Regions from separate parts of the Homo sapiens genome. Here region 1 is linked to region 2. The links are contacts of gene promoters, found by promoter capture Hi-C in blood cells and fetal thymus (Javierre and others, 2016). All regions are on one chromosome and are shown on one strand. Each heading gives the region's core, a stretch centred on a gene start or on the middle of the fragment in contact. The rest is flanking DNA. Distances are from core to core; before and after follow the strand shown. Region 1 has its middle 340 kb from the start of NR5A2. Region 2 holds the start of LINC00862 (long intergenic non-protein coding RNA 862).

The links. Contacts are between HindIII fragments. The CHiCAGO score rates a contact against its expected background, and 5 or more counts as called.
Region 1: a fragment that was not itself captured here is called in contact with the fragment with the promoter of LINC00862 in region 2 in 1 of 17 cell types (naive B cells); the score reaches 6.5 in naive B cells.

What each region holds. Positions count from the first base shown.
Region 1 is chr1:199,687,063-199,689,946 of GRCh38, reverse strand. No RefSeq gene overlaps it. Among named protein-coding and RNA genes, the nearest start is that of NR5A2, 340 kb to the left of the region's middle. The HindIII fragment of the contact is 426 bases long and covers 1,151-1,576 here.
Region 2 is chr1:200,372,378-200,375,244 of GRCh38, reverse strand. LINC00862 (long intergenic non-protein coding RNA 862) reads left to right here and starts at 1,453. Exons shown (of 5, transcript NR_040064.1): 1 at 1,453-1,598; 2 at 2,076-2,152. RefSeq lists enhancers at 1-1,172, 2,569-2,867. The HindIII fragment of the contact is 2,511 bases long and covers 1-1,941 here.

The DNA.
Region 1 (2,884 bases), core at 114-2,613, 690 kb after region 2:
TCCAAATTCTGGAAGGCCAACGCAGACCTCCTGAATCAGAAACTGGATGTTGGGTCCAGTAATCCGGGTTTTCACAACTCTCCTGGTGACTCTGATGCCAGCTAAAGCCTGAGAACCACTGCCGCAGAGCTTTACCTAACAAGCCTTCAGGTCTGTCTACATCTTGTTGGTTTGATAGCAATGGAGTGAAATTCTCTGTGTTTGTGTCCACTATATCTAATTACAACTTATGGACACTCAGGAATCGTTAAATGACAATATGGGAAGGGGAGATGTTCACATTCATTAAATACTGTTCTAAAATTATACCCGCAGTGTAACTGAGAGAGGTATGACTGTGTGACGACACAGAGAGGTAATGCCATTAAAAGAAAGGCTCACTGCTGCTCACAGCTCCCCAGGAAATGAGAGGCAAGGCATGCAACTCAGGACCATGGAGGAGGTTCCAGTGCCAGGAAGCAGAAGTGGGAGCGAGGGGAAAGCTGAGGCTAGAGCCTTTATTGGGGTTTCTGCAGGAAAGGCAAGGCAGGGCAGGGCGAAGAGCTTAAGGTTGGCAGTTTCAATAATTCTAGGGGGCTTTGGGGCATAGAGGTGGTCTTTAGTTGCATAGATCTGTTCCCTAGAGTTATTCAGGGGTGTGGAAATATTGGCTTTATGTGTGAGAGCTAGACAAGGAAATGGTTGAGGCTGTAGACTCGGGATTGGTTGGTGCTCCCTGGAGACCCCTGTTTTGTATAAGAATTGGCTACTCCTGGGAGGTGAAGTCTCTCCCTGGCCAGCAAGCTTTCTGAGATATTAGAACATCATAAAATATAGAAAATAAAAAAAATGCTTAAAACAAGTATGTGCCAGGGATTATACTAGAATATATATATGTATAAAATCCCATTTCATGCTCACAGCAGCCCTATGCAGTTGGTTTTGTCCTACCACAAATAATAAAACTGAAGTTCAGAGAGGTCAAGTAATTTGTCTAAGCTCACACAGCTGCAAGTGGTGGAGCAGAGATTTAAGTAAGACTAGTTTGACTTTAAAAGCTCTTCCAACTTATAAAGCTATATAACAGAGTCTAGCTTTTCTCCTAGGAACTATATGAAACTCAAAGTCTGGCAATGACTGGAGAGAACTGGACTGGAAAGTTTCTCAAGCTTGATAGAGTTGAAGGGACTACAGCTGGGAGAGGGCAGCTATTAGGGGAGCCACAGCTGCCAGTCTGCATTCATATTCTACGTGGGGGAGGGATGGGACATACATACACACATTTCTCACAGCCAAGTTTAAAACAATTTAAATGAAGCAAAGTATTCAATTAGAGATGCTTGAGGAAACCAGGCACGTATCATCTATGTCAGCAGCAAAGGAGAAGAAAATATTTAGCCTTTGCAAGCTGTGACCACTTCAGCACTGTATGATGATGTTGCCTCACGGAAGAGCAAAAGAATACATCCAGTACCTTAGAGAGATTAATTTCCCCAGGAAAAAAAAAGAAAACAAAGGAAGATCCTCTGATTACATTTAAATATTTCCTTGCCAATGCTTGGGGGAATTCTGACATTCCTTCTTGCAAAGGAAAGCTTTTGTGCCTGGGAAAAAGGTGATTAGGGCACTGTGCCTGGGAGGATAGAGGCGAGGGAGGGGTGAAAGGGAGGAAGGGGTGTTTCAATAGCAGCACAGGTGCAACAGTTTGGACTGAGTGATGGCCTTACAAATGACCCTGGCACAGAGCAGAGGAAACCCAAGGAGAAGATTAATTGAATTACAGCTACAGTATGTATGTATGCATTTTATTTCTGTTCTAAAGTCTAAATGGATTGTGGGGCTGGCTAACCAGCTGGGGTAAGGTCAAAATATTGAGGAAATGAGAGGGGATATAGATGAACAATTTTCTTGATAGGGAACAAATCCTTAGCTTGTTTGCTTTTGTCTAGAACATTTTGGAGTCTGAAAAGGCTCAGTTCATAACCTCCTTTATGTAAGTGCAATCTAATTATTTTTCATGCCAGGATATGACCAGTACCTGAGGTTTTGGCTTTAAGACTATGGAAGGTAAATTGGGATAAGGAGTAGAACATTTGCTTTATAACCCAATTTCTCGCTTTCCAGGAGAGCTGATGGTAGAATTTTTTCTTTAGGACACTGAAAATATAATTTAAATTTTAAGAAAAGTTAATATCCACACACCTTTACTACAGAGGTAATGTACGCCCAGTACCTCAAATTCATCTTGCATATAGTAAGCCTTCAACCCAGGAAGACCAACCACCCTGTCCCTTGCTTTAACAACTGTTTAAGAGAAAATATGGCATATTAGAAGGACTGTTACTAAACTGGGTGACTAATGAGTGGTGTGTCATCAGACTATACAGTCTTAAATACCTCATTTTAGCCTCTCTGAGACTTGGCTTAATTGTGTCTAATAGCCCCTCCATCTGTCTTCTGGGAGTCATGCTCGCCCAGCAGTTCCTCTCTCCTTATTCTTGTCAGCCTGTGCATGGTTGCTAACGCTGTGCTGTAGTGAGATCTTGCTGGCCAGCCCCAACAGCATTCCGCCCCTCACCACTCAGCGAGGTTTATATAAACTTGCAAGGTATGTGTTTCATTGTTACTTTGATGACCCATATTCAGGGACCACAGAAAGCTCTGTATCTGCCCTGCTTATTTAACAGCTATTGTGAGGAGCCAATAAAGTAAGTGAAAACCACTTATAAAGTGTAAAGCACCGGACAAATATTCATTAAATCTTTGTACCTTTATTCCTATAGCCCTGAACACTTTGTCTTCCCTTTCAAAAAAACTTAAGTTACCTCTTATATTTTACTTCATTTAGTCTCATCAAATCCCTTTAAAGTAAAGAGCTAATTGCTTGGTTTAATAAACTTCTCCT
Region 2 (2,867 bases), core at 204-2,703:
TTGTTGTCATGCAAGTTGGAAGGAAAGATGCTTATCCAAAAGCTGAATGCCTGAATCAGTAATCTTGCGGCAGAGCTATTGTAGGTGATGACAAGGTCAGTCCTTTGAAGTCTATGCATATATATCTTCATTATAGGCTGACTTGCCAAGTCTTAGAATTTTTACAATATAACCTCACTGTGGATCTCATCTAAGCAGGTTTGGTAACCAAAAGCTCAAGAGCGTGAGATTGAGACCCCAGAGAGCTCATAGCCTGTCACAAACCAGCTGTGTAACCACGGACCTTGAGGAAATGAACCTTATGGTCCCTTCCGTCTCTAATCTGTGACTCCATAGCCCCATTATAATATAGCCTTTTCCCAAACACTGACCTTCAACATAGACCCTGGGGGATTTTTCTATTAAAAATTTGCAACTCTGCACATTTTTATCTGCTGATGCCTCTTGGAATATTAAATGCTTAGAAAGCTGTCGTCGGGATCACATTCTGGAATCTTGACCATGTAGTCATCTGAGTGGGTGTGACAGGAAGTATACACCAGCAGCATTTGTGTCTGAGTGTCCTTCAGACACTGGGATGGCTGCACCTTTACCCGTCCTCTCCAACTCTCTCCACCTAGAAAGTATTCTTTTCTCTTAATTTTGTTAGAGTTATATAGGAATGCTCCTTCAGCAGAAATGACAGAGGCTGTTGCTCTCAGAATCAAATGCAATAATGTGACCTGTAAATTCCTGTGAATATTTGGATATTTTAGCGATATTTGTTTATTCAGAAGAGATTCTGGATGCAGAACTCTCCTCCTCTCTGTTCTCTAACCCTGCTTTCCACCATCATTCTTCTCTCTCTAGGGCACAGAGAGAATTAAGAACAACCTAAGGTAAATTTTTAACAAGATGGTCTAGCTTGAGCTCTGTAGGCTTGACTGATGAAATAAGTAGTAGTTTTTTGCTAAAATAACCACATTGTTTGCAAAAGTTTTCTCCTTTGAGTTTTCTAGGGTCATTACAATGATCTAACTGCCTTACCTGCTTTTGAACTGGTTGAGCCTCTTGTGGGACCGAAAACAAAAGAAGGGTGTTGAAATGCAAATAGATAACTCTGGGTCCCAGTCCCTGACTGCAAAAGGAAGCCAAAACTGACAACAACGTCTCCTTCTCTACGGAGGTTTGTAGAAAGGCTGTACAAAAATCTCACAAGATGTATTTCTTCTCGTGGACTGGAGTCCCAAGGTAGGTAAGAAAAACAAAAACAAGATAAAAACAAACAAAGGATTCCGTACTTGGAATTTGCTCAGTACCAGTTGAATAGCTAATTGTTTCTTGTGTTCTTCCCCTCCCCCCTTTTTTTCTGCCTGAATAGATAATCCTTACAAAACATCTATTCATTCTACAAGTGAAAATTTCAAGAATATTCTATACTGACCTTGGCAAGAGTAATGGACCGAGATTGAGTGATGAATTTGTGTGTGTTGTGGCTGATGTGCATTTTGGTGCTTTGTATGCAAGTTTAAGAATATCTTAGCAATAGGAAAGGAAGATTTATGGCAGTTTAATTAATGAATATAATGAAGGCTAAAACTTGTAGATAAATTTATAAGGTACACAATTATTTTTATAGCTTATTTTTAGCACAAAGGTGATTGTATTTTGTTGCTTTAAGAAAGGACCTCTTGATAATACTGGCGTGTTTTATATTTCAATGTGACCAGTTTAACTGATATGCAAACAATTATTTTTTAAGGGAAATAAAATGAGGCAGTAGTACAACTTAGCGAAGAGGACACTGTGGCAGATTCTAACGACTAGATTAAATTTGAGCTCTTATTTGGCTTTTACTACCAACTGACTGCATAACTTTGGGTCAGTTATTTGGCTCTTTTTTTTTTTTAATTTACAAAATTAGAATGAGAACTACAGATAGTGAAAATATTTGGAAAAGCTTTTTGAAGTCCCACGTGAAAGGCATCAGAAAAAAGAGTTGGGTGATTTTTTTTAATGGGAAATAATCTGATATTGTCAGTAAACCTAAATTTTTTGTATATTAATTTATTTTTTAAGCTGTTATTTAATTTCAGGTGCTTAAGAGCTCTTCAATTTGTTAATGGAAAGAAACACCATTTACACCGGATGGCTACAAAGCAACCTTATTCTGGTAAAATAATCTCTTAAATCCTTATATACACAGTCACTAACTGTTGGCTTTATAAGGTCAGTAGTAGCAAAACAGCCCTGTGGCAGTTAGAAGCTCAGCATGTCCAAGATAGCACTAACGGGGAACAAACACAAAAAACAGCAAACAGTTTAAACAGTACCATTTGATTTGAATTTAACCCAATCTTAAACAGAGGACTCTAAAAAAACAATTACCAGCAAAGTTACATTAATTAGGGAGATCATTAGGTTGTATCAATGCAGTTTAGCTATGCCTTTTAAAAAGTGAAGATGGACTAGAAGCGGTGGCTCATACCTGTAATTTCAGCACTTTGGGAGGCCAAGGTGGGAGGATCCCTTGAACTCAGGACTTTGAGACCAACTTGGGCAACAAAGTGAGACCATCATGTCTACAAAATTTTAAAAATTAGCTGGGTGTGGTGGGGTATGCCTGTGGTCCCAACTATTTGGAAGGCTGAAGCAGGAGGATCGCTTGAGCCCAGGAGGTCAAGGCTGCAGTAAGCCATGATTGTGCTACTGCACTCCAACCTGGGCAACTGAGTGAGACCCTGTCTCAAAAAAAAGAAAAAGATTGAACTTGCAGGCCAACATTTATTTCTGACTATTGACTACTTTTGAAAGAGAAAGCTTTGGACACTAACATTCTAGTCTCAGAGGCCTCAAAGAAGCACAGCCCTGTAAAGAAGAAAATTCTG